Linked DNA regions of Homo sapiens: regions 1, 2, 4 and 5 are each linked to region 3. The links are contacts of gene promoters, found by promoter capture Hi-C in blood cells and fetal thymus (Javierre and others, 2016). All regions are on one chromosome and are shown on one strand. Each heading gives the region's core, a stretch centred on a gene start or on the middle of the fragment in contact. The rest is flanking DNA. Distances are from core to core; before and after follow the strand shown. Region 1 holds the start of RBM46 (RNA binding motif protein 46). Region 2 overlaps RBM46 (RNA binding motif protein 46). Region 3 holds the start of MAP9-AS1 (MAP9 antisense RNA 1). Region 4 overlaps CTSO (cathepsin O). Region 5 has its middle 55 kb from the start of RBM46.

Evidence for each region. Contacts are between HindIII fragments. The CHiCAGO score rates a contact against its expected background, and 5 or more counts as called.
Region 1: a contact is called between the fragment with the promoter of RBM46 here and the fragment with the promoter of MAP9-AS1 in region 3, in 4 of 17 cell types (megakaryocytes, M2 macrophages, erythroblasts and 1 more). The highest score is 8.9, in megakaryocytes.
Region 2: a contact is called between a fragment that was not itself captured here and the fragment with the promoter of MAP9-AS1 in region 3, in 2 of 17 cell types (endothelial precursors and megakaryocytes). The highest score is 9.2, in endothelial precursors.
Region 4: a fragment that was not itself captured here is called in contact with the fragment with the promoter of MAP9-AS1 in region 3 in 2 of 17 cell types (total CD8 T cells and fetal thymus); the score reaches 7.2 in total CD8 T cells.
Region 5: a contact is called between a fragment that was not itself captured here and the fragment with the promoter of MAP9-AS1 in region 3, in 1 of 17 cell types (erythroblasts). The highest score is 5.3, in erythroblasts.

Annotation. Positions count from the first base shown.
Region 1 is chr4:154,779,900-154,782,599 of GRCh38, reverse strand. RBM46 (RNA binding motif protein 46) reads right to left here and starts at 1,328. Exons shown (of 5, transcript NM_144979.5): 1 at 1,164-1,328. LOC105377500 (a long non-coding RNA gene) reads left to right here and starts at 727. Exons shown (of 4, transcript NR_188451.1): 1 at 727-811. The HindIII fragment of the contact is 3,692 bases long and covers 229-2,700 here.
Region 2 is chr4:154,796,095-154,798,794 of GRCh38, reverse strand. RBM46 (RNA binding motif protein 46) reads right to left here. Exons shown (of 5, transcript NM_144979.5): 2 at 1,892-2,053; 3 at 517-984; 4 at 1-13. The coding sequence starts at 2,042. Among named protein-coding and RNA genes, the nearest start is that of RBM46, 16 kb to the right of the region's middle. The HindIII fragment of the contact is 3,687 bases long and covers 1-2,700 here.
Region 3 is chr4:155,352,952-155,355,651 of GRCh38, reverse strand. It overlaps MAP9-AS1 (MAP9 antisense RNA 1), which reads right to left and starts at 1,436. Exons shown (of 3, transcript NR_125937.1): 1 at 1,279-1,436. It overlaps MAP9 (microtubule associated protein 9), which reads left to right. Exons shown (of 14, transcript NM_001039580.2): 10 at 492-581; 11 at 2,312-2,473; 12 at 2,595-2,700. The HindIII fragment of the contact is 4,107 bases long and covers 1-2,700 here.
Region 4 is chr4:155,949,759-155,952,458 of GRCh38, reverse strand. All of the region lies in intron 1 of CTSO (cathepsin O), which reads left to right. Among named protein-coding and RNA genes, the nearest start is that of CTSO, 2.8 kb to the left of the region's middle. The HindIII fragment of the contact is 210 bases long and covers 1,301-1,510 here.
Region 5 is chr4:154,834,658-154,837,357 of GRCh38, reverse strand. No RefSeq gene overlaps it. Among named protein-coding and RNA genes, the nearest start is that of RBM46, 55 kb to the right of the region's middle. The HindIII fragment of the contact is 7,592 bases long and covers 1-2,700 here.

The sequences.
Region 1 (2,700 bases), core at 79-2,578, 570 kb after region 3:
AGGCAGGAGAATCGCTTGAACCCGGTAGGCGGAAGTTGCAGTCAGCCGAGATCCTGCCACTGCTCTCCCGCCTGGGAGACAGAGCGAGACTCCGTCTCAAAACAAAACAAAAAACAAAACAAAAAAACTCCTTATGATATTTCCTCTTTGATATTTGCCTATATTAGGATTACCACATAACATAAAGGTTACGGGGAATTTATCAAGAATGTAAAGACAGTTAAAGCTTAAAGAACTTAAATATTACCTAAGCTAAATTTACATAGGAGAAAACTGGTGCCCAAATAAATCAAGCAGCTTCGCAATATCTCAGAATATCAACGCCAGGATTAAATGCCGCTGGTTCTGTGGTTTTTCCAGCAGCTCCAAAGAAACATTTTTAAATTAGGGGTTTAAAAACTACCAGATGTTAGGAAACAAAGGCGGTGCCACGACGTGTGCTGCCGTCCGTGTGTCGGGGGAGAGGCGAGCTATCTTCCCTGTGCACCCGCGGCCTCCCACTGCCCACAGCCCAGCACACACGAGGTACTCGGGGAAGAAACAGGGAGACAAAGGCAAAGTAAAGTTCGAGGCTCAGTCCCGGCTAGAACTCCACGCAAACGACTAGGAGCCCGCTAAAGCTCACCCAGCCTGAATTCAATTCTGAAACCAGACTGCTGAATCTCACCCAGCCGTCGGGACGCCCCAGACGGCGTCCAAAGCCTCCAGGGGACGCGCGGACCCTACAACGGCCAGGCAGCGGCCCGGGCCTGCAGCGGTCGTTGGTCGTCGGCGTAAGCGTGTCAGGAAAATAACACGAAATGCAGCACAGGTGGGAAGCGGCCGGAAGGCAGCGGGGGAGAGCGGAAATAAGGCGGAGAGCGCAGGGCGCCGCGGGGCGGAAGAGGCCGCCAGACGCCCCAAAGAGACTGGCCGCTGGGCCCTCACCATGCAGCGCCTGGGTGACGGCGAGGGCGCCTTCTGGCCGGATGCTGCCGGGGCAGGAAGCAGCGTCTCGGACACTTGCCCTCCCACTGCTCGACGGGGCTGGGGAAGGACGAGGGTGAACCCCGCAGCCACCGCCGCCAGCCCCCACTGTGTATTCGGCGTGAGAGTGAGCCGGGCACTATCCAGCCGTTAGCAGTGGTCTGGTAGTGACCCCGTTTCCCCTTTCCCCTCCTCACCCCTTCGGGTCTTCAAATGTTGGTCCTAAATCCCGGGGCCCAACGACCAAAAACCGCCGCCACCGTTTAGGGGACCAGTCGGTCAGAGCGAGGGGGGGTCGTCGCAGGGGGAGGGTAGCCCACCGGGACCGCTCGCGCTGGTCCTCGTGTCTCCACTCGTTTCCCAGCGCGCAGCGCGCGCGGTGGCCTAAGCAGCCCCACGAGGAGTGGTGCCTCATCCAATCAGGGATTAGCTTCGGGGCGGGGCGAGGAGGAGAGAGTGGGGCTAAAGTTTAAATGAGGCTCTTGGGCTAGTCAAAGTGCTTGGAGTGACAGGCATTTCGAGCAATTGGGGTGAAGAGAGCGATTTTTAGGGTGTGGGTGGGCACGGAATAATAAATGAAGGTCCTAGGTGCATTGTTTAGGTGTTTGAAGACGAGGGCTGCAGTGTGAAATTCCGCACTTAAGGGAAAACATAGATGCATCGTAATGGTTCTTTTTCTTGTTTGATGTAGTTTTCTTGTAAACTGCTAGTTTGGCGCAAAACAACCACATATATCCGGTGGACCTTTGAAATTAAGGGCTAGGGGGAGGTGGGTTATAAAGCTAAAAGATGGATTTGCAAATAGGACTAGAAGTATAAAGTATAAGTGGTTTAAATGACAATGACTAAGAAAATGGGTTAGATGAGGAGAACTAGCGATAGGCTTGACGCTACCACTAATCAGCTTGCAGGGACATTTGGCAGAGGCGAACTGCCGAACTGGGTTCTATGCTCTTGTAAAACCAACTTTCACAGATAGGGTTGTTTGGCATTCGGTATGCATAACTTCAGTTTTGCTTCCTTTGAAGACAGCTCGAAATTAAATGCAGACAAGGAAAGAAAAAACCACCTTTAGGAACCAACTATTTATGTATAGATAATATTAGATTCATGGAATATTAGACAATAAAGAACCTAGCTCATGTTGATTCTCTAATTAACAAGGAACTTCATGCCCAGAATATTCACCGAGTAACACAGATCTCCTTATTCCCAACCTCAAGGTGATTTCTTCCACATTAACTCCTAATGTATTTTCTCCATATATTCAAGGAACTAATGAATGTCTACCAATTTAAATTTTGTTAAAGTATATTTTTAATTTTTAAATATACTACAACAGTGAGGAATTAGCAGGGACTTTGGAGCCAGACAGACCCTGTTTAAAGTGGGGATTGTGAGAATAAAATAATATATGATATTACCAAATATTGAGCCAGATGCCAGAAACAATCCTAAGGACTTTTCATATTTTCATTTAATTCTCACAGTAACTTTGGTAAAGTTACTAGCCCTACTTTGCAGACGGGGAAACAGATGCAGAAACCTTAAGTAGTTTGGGCAAAGTCATATAGCAAGTAAGTGGCTCCAGTTTGAAACCTACAGACATAATTGCTATACTATACTGTCTCAAAATACGTCCAGAAACAAGTAGAAAACTTGGCATAGTACTTGATGCACACTGGAAGCTCAACAAATATTTTTTGTAAGCCGTCTGCCCTTTAGTCAATGAAT
Region 2 (2,700 bases), core at 98-2,597, 560 kb after region 3:
AGTTGGAATGTTCCTGTAAAAAAAAAATAATAATTTGAAGAGAATTAAAATAAAGAATAAAAGGTAAAGATGTTCAGTAAAACTGTTTCCCCAGAGAAGCAGAAACTCAACTACACATCAATAAATTTGGTTAAGCATTTGTTTCCTATTCACACAAAAATTTTTACTAAAGTAAATAACTAAAACTTACTATGTAATTTCAGAGTCAATAGAACAAATACACTTCAAAGATAGATCTTTATCAGAAGAATTAAGTGTTGCCCTTTGGATTTTTATTAAACAACAATTAACAGCTCAAAGTGTATATATCCAGTAAAAATATCATAAATAGGACTCATTTTACTGGAACAATTTCTTGTCTTTTAGAATCATGTAATTTATTTTACTTCATTACTCAAACAATTCTTTACTCTTCTTTAAGTGACATTAGTATTTTGATAATATTGATCCCTGATGTACTATCATCTCTCCATATTTGTAATAATGTTAATATTGAAAAACAACCTTTCAGTTTACCTGGAATTAGTTTCCTCCTTGCCATAGCAGCAGCTCTGTGAGATTCATATTCCACAAATGCAAAACCACGATTTTTGGTCTTATCAGTTGCACTTGGATAAACAATGACATCTACAACTCCTTCTGTAACTTTCTTCATTTCATCTAAAATTTCTTCTTTCTTCTTTTCCTTGGGAATAGCTCCAATAAATAATCTACAATTATCCAGGCTTACACACACACCAATAAACTTCCCTGGTCGAATTTCATAATTATTAAGAATTCTGATGGCTAATTGGGCTTCTTCTTTTGTAGTGTACATCACAAAAGCATAACCTCGATTTTCACCACTAAATTCCATCATAAGTCGAAATTCATATATCTTCCCAGCTCTTTCAAATACAGGAACTAACTCATCTTCATACATATCACGAGGTATTTTTCCTACAAAAACTTCACAGCCTCTAGGTGGAGGTGGACCTTCCCAACCTGAACGACAAAAATGAAAAGACACATAAATTCTAATTGGATATTTGTACTCACTATTCAATCATATATTCATTCAACAAATTTGCTGTGCTATGTGCCACTCACAATTCTAGGTATTGGTGATACAACAGTGGACAAAATAAAGCCCCTTCCCTTATGAAGCTAATATTCAATAGAGAAGGGAGATAACAAGTGAGTGGTTAAGTGCTACGAAGAAAATCAAGGGAGTGGTCAGGCAAATCTCTGGGTACGTGAGATTTAAGCAGAGACCTGAATAGAATGAGGGAGTGAGCCATGAGGATTATCTGGGAAAAGGGCATTTGGAAAGAAGAAAAAGCAAGCGCTTTTATGTCAGAGCAACATAGATTATGGAAGCCTGTACAGCTAACATGTACGTGAGAAAGGAAGAAAGTGGTAAGTGCTACAGCCATTGAGGTACCCAGAAGCCAGATTTTTATTTTAAGTGTGATAAACTGAAGGGTTTCGGGCAAAGGAATTGTACTGACTATTGGTAGAAAAGTCGAACATTCTATTTACCTGTTTCCATTTGGTTTTCTAGTTTAAACACCACTCACTTACTCACTGCTGTTTCAAATTCCTCCCCAGATGATCTCCTCTTTAACACCTAGAGTAGCACCCTTTTTCCTACTTTCCTAATCCTGACTTCTTTCTCAACCTAGCCCAGCTTCTTTCTCAACTGCTTCTTAGATGAAGAGCAGGGCTGAAAAAATGTAATGGTAAGACATGAATAACATTTATAATTTAACTCTCCTCAACAGTAAAAAAAAAAATGTCTTAAAGCAGTTACAAGGAGAGAGCTATTGTTTGGAATACTTGTGGGGATACACATCTAATCTACATGACGAGGTTAAAGATTAAATTTAAAAGACTGTAAACAAATCCACACCTGGAGGAGGACCGCCAAATTTCCTTTGTCCATTTTCCTGAACCATGTTGTAACCAGTCTTTTCCATCAAAGCAAGTAATGCTGCTTCATTCTGAATACCAGTTCGAACTTTACTGCATCCATTTGTTCCATCTATATTTTCTTCATTCATGGTTGCAGTTCCTAAAATAAAGTTTAATAACACTGGTTAAGTTTACAACAGAATACCAAGAATCTATAAGGCATTTCTTTGGGTTGCAGAAAAACAAAGACAGTTGTGGCTGGCATGTTTGATTAGCCTTCACTGTCCTCTGAGGTTCTGCCCCAAAGCTCTTCCCTACAGTGGAAACTTGGAAACTTCTTTCAATGTCACTGACCAATTATGCAGTACCTTTAGAAGGCCTAAGCTATAAGAAAGGGACACAAACAATGAAAAAGAGAAAGCAACAAAGAATGAAAAAACAAAATTAAGTGAAAGAGAAGAAAAAGGAAAGCAAACAGAGTAACAACAAAATGTAAGCCATCAATGAATATACCTGCCAATCTACATAGCCCAAAATTTAAATCATTTTATCATCTAAGCCAACTGGATTTTCCTGTGGCTTACATTCAACCAATAAATGGCACCCCAACAAACATATTTCCTCTCTTCCAAACTCTCACAACCAGAAATCTGGGTGTTATCCCAGAGTCCTTTGATGCACAGCTCATCAGTCACTAAGACTTGAAGATTTTATCAGATATTTATTTCATTTTTTGAGACAGAGTCTCACTTTGTCACCCAGGCTAGAGTGCAGTGGTGTGAAGGTGGCTCCTGCAGTGTTGGCTTC
Region 3 (2,700 bases), core at 187-2,686:
AAAGAATAAAGTAATCCTGATAGAAAATGATGGTTTAATACTTAAATTTATTGAGAAAGAGTTTCCTTTTAATACATGAGTAATCATATTTTACTAAATTATTTGCTTCCACACTTTGCATAACTGACCATAGTTGTTTTTAAAGAAAGAATATGCCATTGCAATTTATAGAAATACAGCACAAGCCAAAACATTGTAAAGTCTATATATGTTTTCATTTTTTTCTTCTTGAAGTTTATATGAACAAAAGGAGTTATTATGAACAAAAAGTTATTAAATTTTTTCTTTCCTGAGATGTTGTTAGGCGTACATAGGAAAAAGATTGTATTAATTTATTCACAATTCTAAAAGTCTTTTTTTGTCTTTTTTAGAGTAGAATAGTATACTTTAGAAAATTGTACATGTGAATTTCAGAGAAAATGTTAATATAAAGAATTCTAATTCACTTAAGAAATTTTAAATATTATATGACCTTTTTCTTGTTCTTATAGGAGTGGTTAGAAAAGAAAAATGTGTATTTACATGAAATGCACAGAATAAAAAGAATTGAAAGTGAAAACTTAAGGATCCAAAATGAACAGGTATTCTGACATATAGAAGTAAAAATGTTTTGGATTTTTATTTCAGTAAAATATCCCTGAATATATAACTTTTCTAAATCAGCTTTTTAAATGGCAAAATAACTTGTATATTAAAGAAATGATTTCCGGTTTTACTTCTGTTTTACTTTATACATTTTAGTTTGATATAACTGTTTTACATGAAAACAGATTTTAATTTTGTATATGTATAGGATAGCTTTGTTCCTGCTGATTATGAAGTTATTATTGTTTATGAGCACCTAATTCACTTTTAAAAGTTGATTTCATTTAGAACTTAACCAAGAAGGCCAGGTACTGTGGCTCATGCCTGTAATCCCAGCACTTTGGGAGGCCAAGGCAGATGGGATTCCTTGAGGTCTGGAGTTCGACACCAGCCTGGGCAATGTGGTGAAACCCCATCTCTACTAAAAATACAAAAATTAGCCAGGGATGGTGGTGGGCACCTGTAATCCCAGCTACTCAGGAGGCTGAGGTGGCAGGATCACTTGAACCCGGGAGGCGGAGGTTGCAGTTAGCTGAGATCGTGCCACTGTACTCCAGCCTAGGTGACAGAGACTCTGTCTCAAAAAAAAAAAAAAAGGCACGACAAGATAAAGGATCATTAGACACTAGTTAGCCTTCAATTTTCCTCTTTTCTCTCTTGAATTTTATAAGTATCTTCAAGTCCAACCCCTACCTGAACTCTTGATCTGTATCCTTTCCCATTGAATGGAGGTGAACTTTTGTTCCTGTCTCTTCTGTACTGAGTCTCTTCCTCTAACTCCTGCTTGTAATACGCTCAGTTATTTCTTATCTTCTAAAGTCAAACTTCTGGACAAAAACTCCAGTGTGCTGTTCAATACTAAAAATAGATTTAGAAGAAAAATATTTTCCAAGGTGAACTGCACGATAATGCGTCAGTAGTGAAGGGAGCAGCCCTCCAGGGGGCGTGCCTGTCTATCTGTTAACCACGTTCATAGCAGTATGCTGCTGTGGTCAGTGCCATACCCCTTCTCATTTGATTTTCGTAGCTCTGTGAGGTAGATAGTACTTTGACCTCTAAATTATGTTACCCCAATATTAAGGTTTTATGTCATTTAATATTGAACAATAAAGCAAACATAGAATATTATGGGATTAGATTGAAGGAAGTAAAATAATAACATAACTTGCTATACAGTCTCCAACCTATTTTTCAGTCGAGCACATACTTTCAACATTTGGAATACATTTGTGCAGTAAGAACTTTATGTTTTGATACTATTCAAAATTAAGATTTAAACCAAAAATCTGCATCTTACTGCATGGCTTGGCCAATTTGCCTTACTCTAACTTACTTTATAAGCCCATAACTTTACTGATTTTTTTTTCAAATATTTTATTATGAAAATTTTACTATACCACTTAGCCTATTACAGTTTATTTTGATATAATTTGTTTAGTACACTTTCAAAAATAATAGTTGACATCTTTCTCATTAATAGGTCAATATGTGATAAATGTTTTTAGAAAAGGACGTTTTAAAACCAATGAATAATTCAGATAACATTCTTTGTAAATTATCTAAGCCATTCTAAATAAATTACCTACTTTGAAAGTTAATTTCTAAGTATAATGAATATCAGAGGACTAAAGATAAATGTATATGTGTATATTTATATCTAGCCATATTTGTGTCTATGTATATATACATATATATGTATATCACTCTATTATTTTTTCCACTGTAGAAAAAAGCTGCTAAAAGAGAAGAAGCATTAGCATCATTTGAGGCCTGGAAGGCTATGAAAGAAAAGGAAGCAAAGAAAATAGCTGCCAAAAAGAGGCTTGAAGAAAAAAACAAGAAGAAAACTGAAGAAGAAAATGCTGCAAGAAAAGGAGAAGCACTACAAGTATTCAGAACTTTGCACATCTTAATTATTTTAAAACATTTGAAATCCAAATTAATGATTAACCATATTTTTATTTATTTTCAAATATTCACAGTAAGAAAATTATTCTGAACTTTTTCAGGCTTTTGAAAAATGGAAAGAGAAAAAGATGGAATATCTTAAAGAGAAAAATAGAAAGGAGAGAGAATATGAAAGAGCAAAGAAACAGAAAGAGGAGGAAACTGTTG
Region 4 (2,700 bases), core at 156-2,655, 600 kb before region 3:
TCATTGGCTAAATAAATAAACACACTGTCAGGCTCCTAAAAATAATATTTCAGGACAAAGCTCAAAGGGCTAGACTTATAAATATATTTTTAACATTTATTTAGATTTTAGATAATTTATAAATATATATGTGTATAATTTATGTAGTGACTCATACTGGTCCTGTAAAGAGGCCATACCCTGATGAATGTCTAGAAAATGTAACTTTTCTCAGGAGAAATACAAAGAAACAGGTTGAAAGATGGAAAGTTGGAAGTGGAGGAGGATCGAATTATGAAGACTCTTAGTACATTTTAAAAACCTCGGGTTAAGAAATACTGAAAAAATTTTCAAAGCAATTGCTGCCTGTAAGAATTTGCTTCATGAGATGGATACCCAAAAAAGAGAACATTGAGGCTTCAACGCACAGTTGCTGGAAACTGAACACCTCTCGGTGCTTAGTTGGACTTTATCCAAGAATGCTTTAAAACCGATTTTCTACCTTAGTGGTCCCCAATCTTTTGGCACTAGGGACCGGATTCATGGAAGACATTTTTTCCATGGACGGGAGGAGGGAAGTGGGGGAGATGGATGGATTTGGGATGAAAGTCTTTCATCTAAGATCATCAGGAATTAGTTAGATTAGTTAGCTGGAGATTGCTGTTCGGACTTGGGATAGAGAGCTGGACAGTGGGAAAGGTGGAAAGGGCCTTGCCTCCTTGGTAACCGTGAAACTTCTTGTTGAAATCAAGTTAATTCATTGGTGAATTGATGATTCAGGGGTTTGCAGCTGAAGATCTGGTTCAAGAAAGTCCTTGATTAATTAGTAATGTCTTTCATGGTCATGGGTTTAGAGAATGGTGAAGGTTTTAAAATTTGTTTTAATCTTAGCCTTAGATAGTTTTGTAAGTTTCCCAGGAATGCACGTTAAATGAAAGTTAGGTTAGCCCATGACTTTCCCACAAAATATTATAGTATTGTTCAGTGAAAACTAGACTCCACTATGGTTTATTATGGGATGCCTCACAAGACACCTGACTTTGGATGGCACCCCTTATCTCTGCACTTTCACTCCTTTAGAAACTTCCAGTGCTCAGGAAGCTCTTAACTATTGGATTTAGCCTACTCTCCTTTGTGCCAAAACCTAGCTATGCCCTCATATTTACTGATGCTCATTATTTTACCACAGAACATTTGGTATTCTTATCCTTTTGGGAGGCACAGACCCAATATTGGATCCAATAAAATTTGCTTGATACACTCACTTTAGAATAATATCTATGCCAAAGTACATGTGATTTTACATAAAATTTCCAAAGCTTTACCTTAAGACCAGTTGCCGTAATGACACAGGTTATATTATTATAAGATTATTTATATATTTAGGAATATTTATTTATGTGTAAATAGATGGCCATAGCATCTTTATAACAAGTGATCCTAACTAATGAGCCACTTATATGTGCTTGCCGTAATCAGCCCCTTGAAATCTGGAATTAGGTCCTCCAAATAGGCTTTATCCAAGAAAGCTTTAAAACCTATTTTCTACCTCAGTGGTCCCCAAACTTTTTGGCACCAGGGATTGGTTTCATGGAAGACAATTTTTCCACGGACTGGGGTGTGGGGGTGGGGTGAGGAGGATGCGGATGATTTCAGAATGAAGCTGTTCCACCCCAGATCATCAAGCATTAGATTCACATAAGGACTGTGCAAACTAGATCCCTTACATGCACCGTTCCCAGTAGGGTTTGTGCTCCTATGATAATCTAATGCTGCTGCCGATCTGACAGAAGGTGGAGATCAGGTGGTGATGCATGCTCGCAGGCCCCTCACCACCTGCTGTGCAGCCTGGTCGTTAACAGGCCACAGAACAGTACTGGTCCATGGCCCAGGGTTTTGAGACTCCTGTTCTACCTTATATAAAGATGAAAACACGAATTTGATGTTAGATAAGGTTGTTCAGCAGACTTTTTCTGATGAATCTCACTTAAAGCATACATTGACTAAATGGAAATATATCATAAACTTAAAATCATAGGTTATAATTTATTCATCTTCCCATACATTTATCCAATACTTTATTTAATTTCCACTGTGTCTAAAGAACTGGTCTGGGTTTTCTGAGGGATACAGTGGAGAATAAGACGCGTGCTGTCCTGTAAGAAATGTACACAAAAAATGAATATCGTTATGTTTAAGCATTGTATCCTGTAAATAAACATTTTCCTGTAAATAAAAAGAATGTAAAGACTTATACACTGGAGAAATAGATTCTCCCAAGTAGTTCACAAAAGAATGTATTTTTAATTCAATCTTTTTGTGTACATGCTCACACAAATCCTGACTACACATTTCTTATCATACATAGTAAACATATATCTGCAATATGTTTACACACACTTCAGTACACTGTATAGAAAATACTTTGTCTAAGAAACTTTTCAAAAGCTGTACTTTATAAAAGTGTATCCTTAAAAAGCTTTTATTGTTCTAATCCAAGGCTCCTCAACAGTGGCACTATTGACATTTGAGAATGGATAGTGATTTGTTGTGGGGGACCTTCCTCTTCATTGTAGGGTGAGTAGCAGCATGCATGGGCTCTATGCACCAGATGCCAGTGGCATCCCACCAGTATGACAATCCCCAGTATGACAAATGAGGGACAAAATTATCCTCAGTTGAGAATCACTGATCTAAAGTTTACAACTCCTAAGTCTTCCA
Region 5 (2,700 bases), core at 104-2,603, 520 kb after region 3:
ATGCTCAAAAAATAAAAAAGGGGGAGTGTGAGTAAAGACCCTGCAACACTATTGGCGCAAGTCTTATTTACCCTTAATTTTCTAAATTTAGATGATAAATTTCAATCAGCTGTAGAAAAGCACTTTGCTGAAACCTCTCAAGACATAAAACCTGCAGTTTTATTGAAAGATGTAAACAGCAATGTACGGTGTGGTCCAAATGAACTGTTAACTTGGGGAAGAGGGTATGCTTGTGTCTACACCCCCTCAGGTCCTCTTTGGATTCCAGCATGACGCATCAAACCACACCATGGCATGGCTAGGAACCAAGCCGGTACCAGAAATGAAGGAACTGACCCTACAGGACCTGCATCCCCGGAGGATGCGGCTTCCTCAAACAACACAGGCCCCAGACATTATACTGAAGAAGACAAGTCAGAAGACTGAGCAAATCCTGCTCCGGGAACAGGCACCATTCACTCCAGATAATGTATTCCTTTTTTATTCTCTCCCTGTGCCTGCTACCTATACCTGCTACACTCAATTAAGCTCATCTTCTAAACCTGCCATTTTTCAGCCCTGTTATCTGGGCAGACACTTCCTTCCCAGCTTCTAACAATGAGACTGCTTGGCTGGAAGGGGTTAACTTATCCCCAGTGAGGTTCCTTAGTAACAGCACACATCAAACTGAAGCGCCAAGCAATGCTGCAGGTCGTTCCTTGATTGGAAAAGAATGTTGCTAATTTTACTCATGACTGTCTTATGTTATTTGCTAATTCTAGGATGCAATGCCAGAATAAGAGCAATGACTGCCTCGCCCCACAGACCTGTTGTTGCACATATCTGCATGCTTCAATCAACAGAACCTGATGCAAAAAAAAAACAGGGAAGAGGGAGATGTGGGAGTTCGGTCAAGCTGGTGGGAAAAATTTTAAGATGAAGTTATAGGATATAGACACAAACCTTCTTGGAAGGCTGGAAGGTTTTGCAAAAGTCTCAGGATAGGGTTATGGCTGAAAGCAGCCTAATCCTTACCTAGAGTTAATAGCTTGGGGTGCAGATACAAAGGAATGTAGAGTAGTTCATCTAAATAGCTTGTTTACTCATGTGGTCCTAAAATCAACCTTTGATCATTCACAGGCAGAATGGCCCTCTCCTGGGTGGGGGCGACCAGGTTAATTACCCACAGGTGTGTTCACTCAAAGCCTTTGTCAATTAAATCTGTAGTAAATAAATGGTTGCCAGCTTGGAGGGGCTGCAAACTCTCTTTGGCTGCCAGTGCTGGCAGCCCCCTGGCCCACTCTTTCACTGAACATTGGTGTCTGAGTACGTATCTCATCCGTTATGCAGCTGGGGTCTGCAGGACAGATCCCTGCAGTCATGGTGTATGATCCTTTTAATGTGCTGTTGAATTTACTTTGCTAGTATTTTGTTTACAAATTTTGCATCAGTATCCATCAAGGATATTGTACTGTAGTTTTCTTGGTGTCTTTTGATGGTTTTGGTACAAGGGTAACGTTGGCCTCATAAAATTAGTTTGGATTCCCTCCTCTTTAATTCTTCCAGATAATCTGAGGATTGATGTTAATTATTTTTCTTTACAACTTCTTCTTCTTTTTTTTTTTTTTTTGAGACGCAGTCTTGCTGTGTCACCCAGGCTGGAGTGCAGTGGTGCGATCTTGGCTCACTGCAAGTTCTGCCTCCCGGGTTCATGCCATTCTCCTGCCTCAGCCTCCCAAGTAGCTGGGACTACAGTTGCCCACCACCACGCCCAGCCAATTTTTTGTATTTTTAGAAGAGACAAGGTTTCACCATGTTAATCAGGATGGTCTCGATCTCCTGATCTCCTGATCCGCCCACCTTGGCCTCCGAAAGTGCTGGGATTATAGGCGTGAGCCACCATGCCCGGCCTGTTTACAACTTTTTTAAGGCAGAGTATCACTCTGTCACCCAGGTTGGAGTACAGTGGCATGATCACAACTCACTGTAGCCTCAACCTATCAAGCTCAAGCTATCCTCCCACCTCAGCCTCCCAAGTAGCTAGGATCACAGGGACAGGTGCCACCACACCTGGCTAATTTTTAAATTATTTTTTTGTAGAGATGGAGGTCTCACCATATAGCTCAGGCTGCTCTCAAATTGCTTTGCTCAAGTGATCCTCCCACCTCAGACTCTCAAAGTTCTTGGATTGTAGACATGAGCCACCATGCCCAGCCCTAATTTTTCTTTAAATGTTTAATAGAATCCTTCAGTAAAGCCATCTGGTCCTGGGCTTTTCTTTTTGAGAGGTTTTTGATTACTGTCTCATTCTCCTTACTAGTTATAGGTCTGTTCAGATTTTTAATTTATTCATGACTCACTCTTGGTAGGTTTTGTTTCTATAAATTATCCATTTCTTCTAGTTTGGCCAGTTTGTTAGTGTGTAATTGTTTATAGCAGTTAGTCTTTTGTAATTATTTTTATTTATGTGACATCTGTTGTAGTTTTCCCTCGTTTATTTCTAATTTTAGATAATTGAGTCCCCTTTTTTTCTTAGTCTAGTTACCGGTTTGTCAATTTTCTTGATCTTTCCAAAAACTAAGTCTTGGTTTAACTGATTTGTTTTTTCTTTTCTATCCTCTATTTATTTCTACTTTAGTCTTTATTTTCTTCCTTTTGCTAGCCTTACGTTTTATTTATTTTTCTTGTTCTAGTTCCTGAGGTGTAAGGTTAAGTTGTTGA